Regions from separate parts of the Homo sapiens genome. Here regions 2, 3, 4, 5 and 6 are each linked to region 1. The links are contacts of gene promoters, found by promoter capture Hi-C in blood cells and fetal thymus (Javierre and others, 2016). All regions are on one chromosome and are shown on one strand. Each heading gives the region's core, a stretch centred on a gene start or on the middle of the fragment in contact. The rest is flanking DNA. Distances are from core to core; before and after follow the strand shown.

Region 1 (2,700 bases), core at 6-2,505:
CTGAAACCTCCCCTAGCAACCCGGAGTCCTGCTGGGGTTTTCCAGCTCCACCTCCTGAACAGCTGGGCTGTAGCACACAGGCTGGATCTACTCATACTTGCCTTCCTAGAGCTCAACTGAAGTCACTTCAGACAAGTGAAGTACCCACTCACCTCTGGAATCAGATCTTGGTAACGCCAACAGGTTAGCAGGTGATTTCATTTCAGTGTGTGTCTGGGTGGCTAGCATTCAAACGCAGCTCACACTGGGAGCTATTTCTAGTCCAATTTTGCTACTTGGTAACGTATTAATAGCATCAATTAAAACATTCCCAACGAATAGATCTTTAAAAGGACGGTTTCTGACTTCCCTAACAAGCAGAGGGCCGACCACCTGCCTGCGAAGTGCCCCTCCTGCCCTGTCTCCAGGCAGCATGCTGTGAGCGATGACAGAAACTGGACCCGCGCACAGAGAAGCTGCAGGCACGCCCTGCCCGGCCACCCAGCTGCCTGCCTGCTTCGCCCGGCCGCCGAGCCCCGGGGGAAAACCTAGAATGGGGATGCCGGTGCGCCCCGACACCTGGGCACGGCCGCGGGCCGGGGAGCCGCCCACACTTGGCTCCCCAAGAGTTAAACGCTGAGTAATTTTCCTGAGGAGCAAACAGTCGGAGCGGGGGCTCTGCCAATGGCCACAGTATTTTTATCCGACTTAACCGACACCGCGGCGCGACCTCGGCTGTCCCCAAGGGTATCCCCACGCGGCACGCTCCGGAGTCCCCGACCGGGACCCTCGCCGGCTCCCAGCGCGACATGGACGACAGCGCCGCCGCCGAGTCCCCCGCGCCCGGGCAGGAGGCAGAGACCTGGGGCCGCCCGAGGACTGCTAGGGGCCCCTCCGCCCGGGGTCCGCGCCCGGGCCTAAGCGGTAGGGGGTGTGCGCCCAAGTTGGCCCGCTTTGCTGCAAGAGTGGAAAGGGGTGGGAGCAGAAAGCGCCGGCCCCGCCCGGGGCGGGGAGCAACGCGGGGCTGCAGGGCCGCCTCGGGGCCCCGAACCACCGCCGCCCGGCCCACCGCGGCGCCGGGGAATGAATGGGGCTCCCCAGCTGGCAGCGGGCGCGCACTCACAGGCGACGTAGGCCAGCAAGGCGATGCCCAGCAGCAGCTTCATCCTCCTGCGGTTGACGGCAGACACGAGGCGCAGCAGCGCCTTGCTCACCATCCCCGGGAGCCGCGCGGGTCCAGGGCCCTACCGCGCGGGGGCCCGCCTGCTGCACAATGCGCGGCGGCGGCGGCGGCAGCGGCCCCGAGAGCCCCGCCTCCTGCCGCCGCGCGCCCCCGCCCCCGCGCGCCTGCTTCCTGCTGGCGGGATCACCGCGCAGGCGCGCCTCCACCCCCTTCCTCCGGCTCCGCCCCCGCCCCTCCGGCTTCTCTACCCGCAGGCGCAGTTGCCGCCTTTCTTGCCTTGGTTTTCGAAGAATGTGACCTGGAGGGCTGGTGGGCGGTGCGGCGCGCCGCGGCGCATGCGCGTTCCGGTCTGTTTTCCCTGAGTTAAAGCGCGCGGGTGCCAGCCGGGAGGTGCGGCTGGATTCGTTTCGCTGAGGTGCGTCCCCAACCCAAGGGCACGACTGCAGTGGCCAGTTTCCGAGCCCCGCCCGGAGGGGGGCACGCGGTGGGCATTCCGGTGTTGCAGTGAAACGAAACTTATTTGCTAAACTTGGCCGAGCCTTAGAAGTTGAATGCCTGCCTCAGAAAGTTGCCTCGTTCTCTGGGCTGTTTAGTTGGCTTTTTTTAGTTAGAATATCGGCAGCGAAAATGATAAATCCCCTAAACCTTGCCGAAGTAAAAACTGGCTGCGTTTTTTTTCCTTGGCTATGATCAACTGGGGTGCCTTTGTTTTAATAATAGTCTTTTATTATTATTTTAAAAAGCAGTGCTAAGTATATTAATTTAGGATAGACTTGGAAAAGAAAAGATGAAATTGCGCTGTCTCTGCCTAGAGAAAAACCCTGACCATGTTGTCGTGTGTGTTTCATTCAATCTTTTTGTTGAGTATATCTGTTTTATGAGTGCTGTACTGATTGCATAGGAGGTACCTGTGTTTAAAAAGCATTTACTGAATGATGATTACAAGCAAGGAGATGTATCAGAAGATCCACAGATAATCGGAAGCTTGTCATTGGATCTGGAGAGAGCTGGTCCCATGGAGGAAAAAAAGACAGGTACACACAGATGTGTGTGATGCCACATTAAGAGAGATCCCGGATTTGGGATCTGCAGGCTTCAAGAGGTCATCTTCAGCTATACGGAGAAGTTGAAGTCAGCAGCGGCTCTCCTACCTCTTGGAACCTCAGGCCATTTTGCAAAACTTAATAGATCACCCTCCTTTAGATTTATTAGAAACCTCCAAGAAAAGGAAATATGGCAGCTGGTACTAAAGCAGCAGCTTTATGTTACATCTTTCAAACTATAGTGCAAATGATGTGATTCTGATAAAACCTACCTCCATCCTACCCCTCCCCTAAACCTGTTGAGAATCCCTGACTAGGAGGAAACACTGAGCGGTTTGCTAAGGCGGATTGCCCCTGCTATGCATGCTGCCCATAGATGGAGTGGACTTCTTTCGAGAAGCCCAGCTCCCTGACTCTGACGTGTCCAAGGAGGCTGCCAAGTGACAAAACACCTGGCATGGGAGCCTGAGTCCTGGGTTCCCAGAGGGGCCAGGC
Region 2 (2,700 bases), core at 70-2,569, 630 kb before region 1:
TTCCCTTTCTGGTAAATGCCCCAAAACTGTGGTGTATGCTGTTCCTCACTGCTCCAAGCCAATAACCCTGACCTAATCAGACTTCATGTGTGCCCCTGGTGTTTGGGTCTTGGGCAAGGATCAATGGAGAAATCGGCTTACTCTTCCTTCCCCCTTAAACTACAGAGTAATGTGATGGTCACTTTCTATCAATGACTGTATTGGTGTTTATGAGCCTCTCTCAAGCTTTCAGGAAACAGCATGGGTTTTAATCCTAGTAGGGAACCTGCTTGTCCATGCAGGAAATGTTTAGCAATTTTCTCTCTTCCTTTTGAGTTTTCTCTTTGTCCAGATCACTGTAATTTTTTTCCCCTTCTATTCTGCTGGGCATTCTGTGAGCCCTTTTGAATGGAGGTTGGACCTTTCTTGCCTCTCTGCCTCCAGGGGAGGACTTTGAGCTCTTACACAGCAAGTACTTTACGGGGAAAGACGGGACAGGCTGCACCACACACACCTGGGGTGTGGTGGGCTCCCCACACTGGCGAGTGTGTGGGCAGCTGAGAGATGAGTTGGGTTTTCTGGTTCCCTTGGAGGGAGTTCTCAGTTGCTTTTCTGATTCAGAAATGGAGCAGCAACCCCCTCCATACACACCTTCCTTGGCAAAGCTTCTCTGCCTGGAGCAGCAGGTCCCTTAGGTTCAGATTAAGGGCCTTCCTACTCCTGAGGTCTAAGAGTCACTGGCCCTAAGACAGGGCCCTCTGGTGCCCTCCCCTCTCTTCCCTCACTGTCGGGGAGAAGGAGTGCAGCACCTGAACCCCACGGGTACTGCCTATCAGGCTCACTGCAGGGTTCACATTGGTGTGCTGAGGTTTGTGCATCCCCCACCTCCACTCCCACCCTCCACCCCTCTCTGGGGAGGATGCTGTCTGCATTCGTCACCATCCTGACTCAGGACCAGACTTCAGGTTTCTTCAGAAATTGGTGGGATCTTAACTCTTAAGCTCTCAAATTGGGTGCTTCTTTCCAGTGGCCACTGTCACAGGACCCCTGAGACCCTCACGTTCAGACCTGAGCCAGGCTGAAAGGAGAAGCACCACATCAGGCATCCAAGTGCTGATTCTGCCATGGGGTCAGCCCGTGCTGCCAGCACAGCCAGGCGACAGGTTGGAGGTGCTCGGCTTTGGGCTTGGGTGTAGTAGGGGGAACATTTCTCCCTCTCTGCCCCTTGCTGGTTCTGCCAGTGGGGATTGCTGGGCGGCCCAAACCCCACGAATGAGGAGCGGAGCCAGTGCTGCTTTGCATGGCCTGCGAATGTGGGTTAGGAAGCCCACGCATCAGCCCCTCACTGCTACTGTTTGGATGGAAACTTCCCAATGTGTCTAATAAAGTTCTGTCAAAACCCCCGGGCCGCGGGCTCTTAGGAGGTAGTTGAGTAGCATTTGACTTCTTAAATTTATTCATTTATTTACTTCTAACTGTGGTAAACGCACATGACATAAAATTGGCCATTTTAACCATTTTTAGGTGTACAATTTAGTGGCATTAAGCACATTCACACAGTTGTGCAGCCATCACCACCATCCAGCTCCCGCACTCTTCAACCTCTCAAACAGAAACTCTACCCATTCAACAACTCCCCACTTCTCTCTCCTGCCAGACCAACAACCCCCTTTCTACTGTCTATCTCTGTGAACTTGACCACTCCAGTACCTCATGTGGGTACAATCATGCAGTGTTTGTCCTTCCGTGACTGGCTTATTTCACTGGATAGAATGACCTCAGGGTCTATCCACATCACAGCATGTGTAGACTCTCCTTCCTCTTTAAGGCTGAGTAGTATTCCACTGTATAACATAAGCCACGTTTTGCCCGTGCACCCATCCATCCATGCACACTTCAGTTGCTTCCACTCTTGGGCTGTTGTGAACACGGGTGTGTGGGTGTCGTCTCGGCGGCATACATTTTGACTCCTGCCAATCAAAGATATTCAATAGACATCTTCTGATGTCTATAGTTCAAGCTTGTGGGGAAAATTCCAGCTGTGTGGCTCTTTAGACAACTAAACAAGTCAGCATCCCCCATCCCTCCCACTCCCCATAGAAAAGAGAAAGAGCATGCCTGTTCTAGAGATTGTGACTCCTTGGAGCTTCTGCCTCAGCCAGCAGCGCCATCCCTGAAACCGTGAGGGAAAAGTGCTCTTCATTTGTCCACGTGCCCTTGGCTATTCTTAGTGGGAAGAAGCAAGCCTGGCTCTAATTTAATGTTCATTTCCTGCCATGAATGTTGCAGGGGGTCCTGCGTCATCCTCAGGACCCTGCAATGGAATTTCCAAGGGGCTTGCCTATCTGGTCTTCAGCTCACTCATGAGCCCTTTTGGCAGCCTGCACAACACCATGTTGATTTGTGACAGTTCTCCCAGTCCCTAAGCGGTATGTTTGTGCATTAGGAGGTTTGCGCCCTCCTTGCCAAGGGCCCATCTCTCTCCCTCGGCCACTGTTGGCAGCTCCCAAGCTCCCCCCACCTCTACCAGACGAGGAGAGCTGGAGCTCTGAGCACAGCCTCCATGGCAGACCCGTGTGTGTCGGGCCCTGCACCACCCCAGTGGAGGGCGGTGCGTGGTTTGGTCTTTGTTCCCTGGGTGGAAACTCCGCCTCTCCACTGCAGGTCCCTGATGCTGGAGAGTAGGAAGGTCACAGTCTGGGGGAGCTGACTTCCAGCACC
Region 3 (2,700 bases), core at 91-2,590, 830 kb before region 1:
CGCCCCACCAGTGAGAGGGAGCACTTCTTACAGTTAAAGCAGTCGTTATGCCACTGCCGTTCCTCAAAGGAGATGTATTTTGTGCCACCAAGTCCTGTTAACAGAGAGAAAATAATACCGGATGAAGAAAGTTAGAATCAGGCAACTGGGACTGAAGAAGGAATTCTGGTTTGATCCATTTCAAAGTTTGGATTGTGTAATATGGATAATGTGAATTTCTAGTGACTGGGTGTTGGGAATCCATATGTAAATCAGATTCTATGCACAGCCTGGAGGATCTCGTGAATATCAGAAGAGATATATAAACTGGTTCCAAAACGATGGGATAAGTGCGATCAAAGAATGCTGACTGTGTATTTGTTATGTGTTTTCCCACAAAATGAAACTCCATGAGAAGAGGGAGCAGATTTCTCTTATGTCTTCACTAGGTGCCTCACGTTGCCTGGTGCTCAAATTTTTATGACTTAATGATTGAAGCAGTGAAGGGAGTGTAGAAGAGGAAAAGGTTAATCCTCCCTGGGATGGCCAGGAAAGGCCTCACAGATAAAGTGCGATGTGGGTGGGAATGAGGGGAGAGGGATATTGTCGCAGTGGGAAGATCCTGAGAAAGCTGCAGACAGATAGAATGGAATCAAATATTTAAGGTACATTGGTCCGTGATTATAATACAGTTGGTTTTTACCTAGTGTTTTTTCTCAGTGCCACAATAACCACAATTCACATTCATATCTAATGTTTTACATTTAAAAGTGCTTTTATATAGATTGTATCACTTTATAAAGCTTAATGTTATAAACATTTACCTCAACAGAAGTTACTGCTGAAAACAGCATTAAAGATGAATATGTTCTGGCAAAAGATTACATTTTCCCCCTAAAAGATTCCAAGGGAAATCTGGTATATAAATGACCAGAAACAGATATTTTAACATAGGTAAAGTGTAAATACTGTGCTTTTCTTCATATTTTAATTTCACATGGAAATGTAATGAGCTCTGCATTACACATGAGAGTACTGTTTTAGCGACCTGGGAAGGTGAGTTAGCTGAGTTAGGTGAACTTGGTTCTAGGCCTAAGGGAAAGGAAAGTCAAGGACAAGTACACAGGGGGTGTATAGATGTGTTTCTGTAGTTACACTGAAAAGCCACACAGGAAAGCCAGGCCACCGGGTACTCCAAGTGTCTGCCACCTTCCTCTGATAGGAACGAACCAGTCAACTGAATGCAACGGGATTGCAAATCCCACATCATAAAACTTCTCCTGTGTTATTACAGAACACACACTTTTCTCTCCCCACCCAGTCACTCATTTGTGTAGCGATATGTGGTGACCATTTAAAGGACTTTAGTGTGAACTCCTCTGTTCTCCACACTGAATTTCTCCAGCCTGCTTAATAGTCTAGTCCAGAAGCCTGGTCTGCCAGCCAGCCAGATTTTGGGCTCTCACTTAGCTGAATTCTTTGGGGGAATACAATATGAAAAACTCCTTAGAATGTACCCTCTGCCCTCATATAGCTATGGCCTTGTGGTAGAAGTTTCCCATTAAGATGTTTTGGAGTACAACCGTCCCACTAAGATGCTAGGGGACACTTCTAAGAACACAGCACAGCTGCTAAGCCTGAAAAGGCCAGTTTTTATTGTGCTTTTGTGATGTCACAGGCTCACAGACTGCAGTTTTAGCGATAATCCAACCCAAAGCAGAAACTAAACTGGAGCACTGGCCATATGGTTGTGATCAGGTGGGCTGCAGAGGAAGGAATCATTACTTGCTGAAGCATAGCCAGTGCACCAAGGAGAGGAAAGCAGATAGGCAGAAAAGTCTGCTGTGTTCAGAGCCTTAGGGAGGTCTGGGGAGTTGAGGGATATAGACAGGGTCACAGGCTAAAATGCTAGGCCTTGTTCAAGCTTCCAATCGCCCCTGGAAATGGGAACCCCGGGACACTCACCGCTGATGGGGTTGGTGCACCCAGCACACTTCTTGGCATACAAGTCACAGAAGCAGTTCAGGCAGTAGGCAAAGTCATCGCGAGCTGTGAAGCGCTGCCCAGACAGCTGCTTCCTGCAGGCGGTGCACACGAAGCACTCCTTGTGCCAGGGCTGCTCCCGGTAAGTGACCCCTCCCGTGGTGATGGGCTGCAGGGACGAGGGGGAGAGTTAGTGTGGCCTCTGTGCTTGGCAGACATCTTCAGTCTCAGCTACTGCCACTGGACGATGCAAGATCCTCATCCAGAAACGTCCAGTTTGTTAAGTCACCAAGAAGCTGCTTTACAAACTTCACAGTCACTCGTCACCCTCACCACACGCTTTCATTCCAGTGTCATAGGCCCTGGCTTTCCCGTTAGTGAAACTGGAGCTTGGGGTTGCCCTCAGCCCTTCCCAGGGATGCTGGGGATCTAAGGCATAGGGTGCCTCAGTGGTGTTGCCACCTTTCTGAGCAGGGAAGCAGCACAGTGGAGGGGTCGGGATTCAATACAGCATCAAGGAGACCTGGGTTTGAATCCTAACCCTACTCCTTACCAGCCCTGTGGCTGGGAGCAGGTCATGATAAAGATCTCTGCACTTCAGTTTTCTCATCCAGGAAGTGAGGGTGATGAGGTTAATTGGGCAAGTTGATGAGGAGTCCTTACTTAGAAGCCTGGCAGGGCTGGTGGCTCACACCTGTAATCTCAGGACTTTGGGAGGCCGAGGCAGGTGGATCACTT
Region 4 (2,700 bases), core at 180-2,679, 790 kb before region 1:
GGAGGGGACTAAAGGAAGGTCCTATCCCCACCTCTCCCTCTCGGGGCCAGAAGACTAGTTAGACATCTTGGATTCCCCTCCAGGGCGGGAAAACCAAAGTGAGCTGGGAGCGTGCCTCCCACATTCCAAGCCCGGGCCCTCTGCGTGACGCTGACGCTGGGTAGGGACAGATGGCACTGTTCAGCATTGTCGCAGGGAGAGCACAGGTTGAGCCCATCCCTGGGAGAGGGTGCGTCGTGATGGAAACATTTGCTCCTGAGCAGGTAACCGGTCCACTTGCAGAAACCGGTGGACGATGAGTAGGTGGACCACAAAGGCGTCCTCGGCACTTTGGGGGCAGGTGTATTATTTTTAACATTCGGGGCAGCTCATAGGAATACATCCTCCAGAGAAGGCGGGAAGAACTCCGTGATTGCTTTCTTTTAATTGATACTCTCCGTCTGGTAGGCCTCATGGGTCTCCATCATGGAATCACAGAACTTGAGAATAAAGGGGCTTCATCACCTTAGCTTCCACTCGGTGAGCACTAGCTCTACCTGGTATCTCATTTGATCCACACTCCTTTAAGGTAAAGATTTTTACCAGATTTACGGTGAGGAAAGTTCAGCTCAGATTTGCTCCAGGCCACGTGAACGGTAACTGTGCCAGCTGAGATTTGAACTGGGATGTGGTAGATGGCAAAGCCATGTAAGTATATTACGGGATCAGAAATGCCTCTCATCCCTCAGTCACTCAGGTGACTCCAGAGGACTGAGACTTGCCATAAGCCCAGCCAGAACTAGATGTGCGGAATACAGCCCTCCCCCGACCCCACCCCACTGTGTCCCTGAAACAGGACGCTTTCCTGAAGAACCTGAGTTAAGGCCACCCTACCTGAATTTCCACTAAGTGTCAAGACAGGCTAGTATTTTGAAATTCAGAGCAAAGTTTGTGTAGAAAAGGCTCCCAGCCCCTGACAGCTACCTAGATGTGTTGTTGATATCGTTACAAATTAGGAAATGGTCTCCTAGTTCTCAAATGGTGAGTCTTAAGCTTCAGTTTGTAAAAACAAGCCCTAAAATGATGAAACATTAATTCTGCATTTATCTTCTTTCTGATTCCTTTTGTCTTATATTTTAATTTTTTTTTTTTTTTTAGCTTTCTGACTTACGGGTGTAATCCATTTAGCTTTGCTTTTTTACTGATAGAGTTATTTAGTTCTGTTATTTTTCTTCTAATAACTGCTTTAGCTGTGTCACATAGGTTCAGCTATGTTGTGTTTTATTATTAAGAAATTCTGCAATTTAATTTTGTGTTTAATTTTTGACCTAATGGGTAGCAGAACATTTTAAATGACCCTGTGGTCATTCGATAGGGTCAGTAAAATCCGGACTCTGGAAACAAACATACCCAGTTTCTACAACAACGATGCACAAAGAAAAACAAGAGAGATGGAGACAGAACCAAGAGATTAAAAAAAGACTTAGCCAACTGCCATGTATGGATCTTATTGGATTCTTTTTTTTTTTTTTTTTTGGATCTTATTGGATTCTAATCAAAGAATAAACTAGTAGAAAATCAATTTTTATGAGACAACCTTGGAAAATATGACACTGACAGGATATTTTCTAGTATTAATGAACAATTTATGTTAGGGGTGATAATGTGATTACACACACACATATATTTTTCTTTTCTTAAGTCCTTGCTTTTCAAGAACAGTGCCAAAATATTTCCTAGTGAAATAACATTATGCCTGGAGTTGTTTCAAAATAATTTGGGGTGGGGAAATGGATAGGGCCTATATATATACGAAATACTATCAGCCATGGATTGTGGATAATCGCTGAAGCTTGATGATGGATATGCAGCAGTTCATCTTACTAGTCTGTCTCCTTTTGTAATGCTTGAAAAATTCCATAATGAAAACATTTTTAAATTACAGATGAACATACCATTTTCTCTTTACCCAGCATTTCCCTTTATAGGAAATTATCTTGTAGATATACTTGCTCCTGTGTAAAACGATAGACACACAAGAGTAGTCATTGTAGAATTGTTTGTAATAGAAAAATACTGGGCCATGTTATGTGTTCGTCAACAAGGGCTTAGTTAAATACAGTATGGTGCATTTTAGAATTATTTACATATGCGGCTGTTAAAATGAACGAGGTAACTATATTTACTGATTTGGCATGATCTCCAAGATAAATCAACTGAGAAAAATAAAAGTAGAGAACACTTTGTAGGTAGAAACCAACCATTTGTGTTCATGAGCAAAGAAAGGACGGGGGAAGACAATGTATATTTATAAGCGGTTGCTTCTGGGGAGATCTGAGTGGCTAGGGGTCATGGGGTGGAAAGGAGATTAATTTTTACTGTACACATTTTTATTTCTTGTAAATTTTGAGCTATGTTAATGTACTCATTCAAAAACTAAATATATATATACACGAATATATACATATATACGTATATATACACGAATATATATATACGTATATATACGTATGTATGTACATATACATGTATATATGTGTATATATACGTGTATATATACACGTATATATACATATATACATATACACATATACACACATATACACATGTATGTATATGTATATATGTATCTGTATGTATATATGTATATATATGTGTATATATGTATATATATGTGTGTATATATATATGTGTGTGTGTGTATATATATATGTATTTGAG
Region 5 (2,700 bases), core at 128-2,627, 850 kb before region 1:
GTAAAGCTTTGTAAGTCATTGTAAGGACTTTGGCTGTACTCAGATGAGAAGCCACTAGAAGGTTTTAAGCAGAGTGGTGACATCATTAGATGTACATTTTGACAAGATGACTCTGGCTGCTGTCCTAAGAAGTGATTTAAGGTGTGTGGGGAGGGGAAGCGGTGTGTATAAGACTGGAAGCAGGGAAACAAATTAGAAGCCTGTACTGTAATCCAGGCAATAGATGGCAGCAGCTTTGACTACAATAGTAAATTTGGTGGGTTGGAGCATGCATGTATTTTGAAGATAGAGCCAATAGGATTTCCTGAATTTTGAGGAAAAAGTCAAGTCAGGTAAAACTCTAAGGTCTTTGAATAATACACAAATGAAGGGCCTGTTAACTAGCTTAAGTTATGCTATTTAAAATTATTTAATTTCAAAAACAGTTTTATAAAACCACAAGCAAGTGATTTTTTCTTTTTTAAAGAAAATTACATTTGATTAATCAGTGTTGTTGATTGGTTAATAAGTACAAAGTGTCCTAAGATCCTTAAGTGAACTCTTCTGTGTCTATTATATCTCAAGTGGATACTATTGATCAATTAATTTTTTTTTAGGGCCTTCTATTTGTAAGGCACCGTCATAGGCAATCCACTAGAAGCAGTGAGAGAAGACAGAGTAGGAGGGTAGGGGTAAAGGGGAGTATGTTCCTCTGAGTTTTAATCTCTGTTTTACAAAGAAAAATTTAATGATTGAGATTATTCTCCAATTATGAAGAATAGTCGAAGAATACATGTCTGCTCATTGTCTTTTGGAAAATACACACACAGTCTGACCTTTGATCAAGAATGCATTTTAGATTGACCATTTTAGCTTGATGGTTACTTTACTTACTAGTACAGACTATGTAGTGGTGTTAACTTTCATAAATATGGGTTACACTGCATATGGCTTTTAATTTACTTTTGCTGTTATTCAGCCAGTATTTTCCTCTTGATCAGCACATTCAGGCATATTGTTCTAGTAAGCAAAACTTTATGTGCCAGTCATACTTTCCTTTGAAGCAATCTTTGTACAACTGTCTTGATTAGTCCCCCAAAATCATTTTGGAAAGGATCTTTGACTCTATTTTTTAAATACACAATTGAATCAGAGCATTAAAACTGGAAGGATCCAAGAGATCATCTTGTATTGTTGAACTACTTATTATTTTATCTGTGGAGGAACTGAGATCCTGAGAAGTGCTGTAACATGCCCAAGGTCACACAGAGCTAGGACCAGGTCCATAGCAACATAGCCCTGTGCTTCTCAAACTTTAATGTGCTTCTTGAATCTTAGATTAAGCAAGCTGTCAAACCCTGCTCTCAGTCCCTGTTTCCCTTCTACAAAGGCAGTGGGTATACAGTGAGCTTACTTCTCATTTTCTACCAAATGATGTTCAGTGATGACCCAAGAATTGTTGAGTTTGGCCAACTGCTAGAAATCTGGTTAAAAGGTGAGTTCTGATGTATTCAGGTTGATGCCCCAGATTCTCCATTTCTTACAAGCTCCTAAGATACTGACTGACGTTGCTGTGCTGGTGCTGCTGGTCCCTGGATCACACTTTGAGTGGCAGGGCTAAAATGTTCTTCCTGATAACTGGCTATCTCAGATTCTTTTAACATGTTTAATTAAAAGGGTTTTTTTTTGGGCCAAGAGCAGTGGCTCACGCCTGTAATCCCAGCATGTTGGGAGGCGGGCGGATTACCCTGAGGTCAGGAGTTCAAGACCAGCCTGGCCAACATGGTGAAACCCCGTCTCTACTAAAAATACAAAAATTAGCTGGGCACTGTGGCATGCACCTGTATCCCAGCTATTCGGGAGGCTGAGGCAGGAGAGTCACTTGAACCTGGGAGGCAGAGGTTGCAGTGAGCCGAGATCGCGCCATCGCACGCCACCCTGGGCAACAAGAGCGCAACTCCGTCTCAAAAATAAATTTTTTTTCAATTCATCTGTGAGATAGGTGATATAGATATTATCTGAGGTATAATAAGTAATAAACAAATGAATGCTTTCCTTATTAACCTTTACTATTAAGAGTGGAAATTAGATTTCCAGAAGGTAAGTATGAGACACTTGCCAGATTTTACAATTGAACTTGTACAAATGTCCAGTTACGATTAGTTTAGAAAATGTCTTGGCTTTAGAGACCTTTGCTGAATGGAGTAGAATGCTGTGCCCCATTTGTAGATTGCTGCTGTGGTAGTCTTGGTATAGTTTTATAGTTTATCATCCTTTTAAAATAATAACTGATTACATGGTTAAGATAACCCTATCAATAAGCTGGTGTTTGTTTTTTAACTAGGAAATCTCATTTTAAGTTCCAGGGCTAGATGGTTAATTGATGTTTTAAAAATAGCTGCATGTTGTGTATACATGAAAGCTAACTTTGAATTTCTTGTACATAAATATTTTAAACTTTGAAATAAAACACTAGGAAATTCTTTCATTTAGAATGAACATAGAAAATTTCATTTTTAATAGTCTCAGATTAGTCTTATCAGAAAATCTTTTTGTTTACTGCTTATTTTAACTTGAATCCCAGTGAACTGGTTTGCCGTTCCAGATGGTATTTTTCAAGAGTGCATCTCTTTGATTTCAGGAGTAGCACTGTAGATGGGTTAAGGAAAAGACCCCTCATCGTATTTGATGGAAGTTCAACAAGTACAAGCATAAAAGTGA
Region 6 (2,700 bases), core at 41-2,540, 610 kb before region 1:
GTGTACGCACAGTTTCCTTTTGTCCTCATGGAATGTTGCTGCTCCCCCCAGAAAGGACTGCCAAGCAGCAGCCCCTCAACTTGCAAAGATGCGGAGGAGCCTGTCTGCAGGGCTTCCGTCAGCTTATTTTTTACTTTGGGAAAAAGTCTGTGCCCACAGGCCTCTCCTCCTCCCTCAGTCTCCTTCCCTTCTTTCTCTGACCCCTGCTTCCCTGGGACTCCGCTGAGCTGGCCTGTCCACTTTGCCTCCTTGAAGATGGGGCACTCGTAAGACCAGCATGCTGAGGTTGACCCACTGGCACCACGTGACTTCAGCATGGTAGTTTAGTAAAAGGCCAGCTCTCCTTAGGAATGATGGCGGAGAGGGAGAAGGTATGGAAAACACAGAAAACCCCACCCTGCACCACTGAAGTGGAGATAGAGCAGCCACAGAGAGTGGATGGGCAAGGACTCTCCTCTGGCCTCTCATGTCCTGGGCTTCAGGGTCCCCATGACAACTGTCCATGGGCACCCACACACCCAGGAACCTACAGGTGCTGGGATTGGACCTCCAGGCAGGCCAGTGGTTCTCGAGCTGCATGCTCAGCACCCTGGAGGGCCTGTTAGAATACAGAGGCCTGCACCCCACCCCAAGTTTTCAATTCAATAAACTTGAGGTGTGGCCCCCAGGTGTGCACTTCTGACAGCTTCCCATGTGCCGCTGAGGACCCAGGTCCAGGGACCCCCTCACTTGGAGAACTACTGGGGTTAGCAAATAAGGCAGAAAGTAGGTAAGCAGAAGTCCTGGTTTGTTTAACCTGCATGATGAATTGTTCAGTGACGACTCACTGCAATTTCTCGCTCACTTTCTGTATTTTATACCTGAATTTCTCTTTGTCAAGAACTGGGAAGGGCCTGAGATTGACACTCCTTGCAAGTTAACCTGTTAACTGGCACAGTTTCGAGAATGCTGGCAGAAGACACAAGACGCCTGGGATAGAGGCAGAGGACAGTTTGCAACTCACAGCCACAACAGCAGCTAGGGTGTCAGCACTTGCACCAGTTTCCAAAGTCATCCCTCAGGGTGATGGTGGCACCTGCACCGTTGTGGGTTGTGCTGTAGAAGAGGAGCCTCGTGCTTAGGGAACCTAAGTCTTTTCTAACAGACAGTATGCCTGCCTGACTGTAACCTTGGAGAGAGACATTTCCTTATTACACTGACAGTAAAAATAACAACAACAACCACCAAACCAAATCAAAACAAAACAAAAAATTTTAAAAAAATCTTTTTGTTCCAGGGATAGATATTATCCCCATATATCAAGGCTATTGATGTACAAACATTCTTAAAATATAGTCTGGAACAAAGGCATCAAACACTTCCACTCTCAAGACGTGCAAAAACCTGAGACCCATGGAGAATTATCTCCAAACATCCTTCTACTTCTTCTCATTGGAAATTACTAAAATGCAAAATCCCCTTAAGGCTATCATGGTAGGCAGAATAATACCTCTTCCTCCCCACAAGATGTCCACCTTGAAACCTGTGAATATGCTACCTTACAGGTTTATTAGTTTCCCTTGGCTGCTGTAACAAAGTACCACCAGCTTGTTGGCTTAAAACAAGAGAAATTTATTGTCTCACAGTTCTGAAAGCTGAAAGTCTAAAATCAAAGTATAGTAGGATCAAGCTCCCTCTGAAGTTTCTAAGTGGGGATCTTTCTTGCCTCCTTTCATGCTGATCATTCCAGGAGTTTCTTGGCTCATCAATGCATCATGCCAGTCTTTGCTAGTGTCTCCATATGGCATTCTCCCTGTGTGTCTGGGTCTTCACATGGCTGTGTACTTATAAGGACACCAGTTGGCCAGGCATGATGGCTCATACTTGTAATTCCAGCAGCTTGAGAGACTGAGGCAGGAGGATCTTGAGGTCAGGAGTTTTGAGACCAGCCTGGGAGACATAGTGAGACCATGTCTCTACAAAAAAAATGAAAAAATTAGCTGGGTGTGATGGCATGCTCCTGCAGTCCCAGCTACTTGGGAGGCTGAGGTGGGAGGATCCCTTGAGCCCAGGAGTCCGCAGCTGTAGTGAGCTATCATCATGCCATTGCACTCCAGGCAACACTCTGGGCAACAGAGTTAGAACCTATCTCTAAAAAACGATAGAGAAAAGACACCAGTCATACTGGTTAAGGGGCTCACCCTACTCTAGTATGATCTCATCCTGACTAATTACATCTCAGTGGCCCTATTTCCAAATAAGGTCCCATTCTGTGGCACTAGGTGGGGGGTTAGGACTTCTTTTCTTTTGGCCGGGGGTGGGGGGGAGATGCAACTGGACCCATAGCACCTGACAAAGAGGAATTAAGGCTGCTCATCAACTGACCTTAATAAGGAGATGATCCTGAATTGTTGGGGTTGAGGAACAGTGTAATCATAAGGGTCCTTAAAAGTGGAAGAAGGAGGCAAAGAAGGTCAGAGCAACGCAATGTGAGAAGGACTTGGCCTTACATTACTGGCTTTGAAGATCGAGGAAGGGACCATGAGCCCAGCAATGTGGTGGCCCCTAGAAGCTGGGAAAGACCAGCAAACAGATTCTCCCCGGATCCTCCAGGAAGGAAGGCCATCCTACAAACACCTTGATTCTAGCCTGGTGAGACCTCTGTGGACTTCTGACCTGCTGGAATAGAACATGATAAATTCATGTTGTTTCAAGCCACGA

What was found. The method cuts DNA at HindIII sites, captures the fragments that hold promoters and counts their contacts. A CHiCAGO score of 5 or more calls a contact.
Region 2: a contact is called between a fragment that was not itself captured here and the fragment with the promoter of UXS1 in region 1, in 1 of 17 cell types (activated CD4 T cells). The highest score is 6.6, in activated CD4 T cells.
Region 3: a fragment that was not itself captured here is called in contact with the fragment with the promoter of UXS1 in region 1 in 9 of 17 cell types (fetal thymus, naive B cells, naive CD4 T cells and 6 more); the score reaches 11.1 in fetal thymus.
Region 4: a fragment that was not itself captured here is called in contact with the fragment with the promoter of UXS1 in region 1 in 1 of 17 cell types (fetal thymus); the score reaches 11.3 in fetal thymus.
Region 5: a contact is called between a fragment that was not itself captured here and the fragment with the promoter of UXS1 in region 1, in 10 of 17 cell types (neutrophils, total B cells, fetal thymus and 7 more). The highest score is 20.9, in neutrophils.
Region 6: a fragment that was not itself captured here is called in contact with the fragment with the promoter of UXS1 in region 1 in 7 of 17 cell types (activated CD4 T cells, non-activated CD4 T cells, total CD4 T cells and 4 more); the score reaches 9.9 in activated CD4 T cells.

The regions. Positions count from the first base shown.
Region 1 is chr2:106,193,046-106,195,745 of GRCh38, forward strand. It overlaps UXS1 (UDP-glucuronate decarboxylase 1), which reads right to left and starts at 1,256. Exons shown (of 15, transcript NM_001253875.2): 1 at 1,103-1,256. The coding sequence starts at 1,196. RefSeq lists an enhancer at 349-398 and a silencer at 729-1,338. The HindIII fragment of the contact is 11,333 bases long and covers 1-2,144 here.
Region 2 is chr2:105,559,011-105,561,710 of GRCh38, forward strand. No RefSeq gene overlaps it. Among named protein-coding and RNA genes, the nearest start is that of LINC02946, 50 kb to the right of the region's middle. The HindIII fragment of the contact is 1,355 bases long and covers 643-1,997 here.
Region 3 is chr2:105,361,341-105,364,040 of GRCh38, forward strand. It overlaps FHL2 (four and a half LIM domains 2), which reads right to left. Exons shown (of 7, transcript NM_001318895.3): 6 at 1,945-2,131; 7 at 1-94. It also overlaps a transcript of C2orf49 not described here. Among named protein-coding and RNA genes, the nearest start is that of C2orf49, 25 kb to the left of the region's middle. The HindIII fragment of the contact is 1,121 bases long and covers 781-1,901 here.
Region 4 is chr2:105,399,568-105,402,267 of GRCh38, forward strand. It overlaps a transcript of FHL2 not described here. Among named protein-coding and RNA genes, the nearest start is that of FHL2, 1.9 kb to the left of the region's middle. RefSeq lists an enhancer at 1-87. The HindIII fragment of the contact is 799 bases long and covers 1,031-1,829 here.
Region 5 is chr2:105,340,228-105,342,927 of GRCh38, forward strand. It overlaps C2orf49 (chromosome 2 open reading frame 49), which reads left to right. Exons shown (of 4, transcript NM_024093.3): 3 at 2,621-2,700. Among named protein-coding and RNA genes, the nearest start is that of C2orf49, 4.0 kb to the left of the region's middle. The HindIII fragment of the contact is 2,746 bases long and covers 5-2,700 here.
Region 6 is chr2:105,579,569-105,582,268 of GRCh38, forward strand. No RefSeq gene overlaps it. Among named protein-coding and RNA genes, the nearest start is that of LINC02946, 30 kb to the right of the region's middle. The HindIII fragment of the contact is 4,227 bases long and covers 1-2,700 here.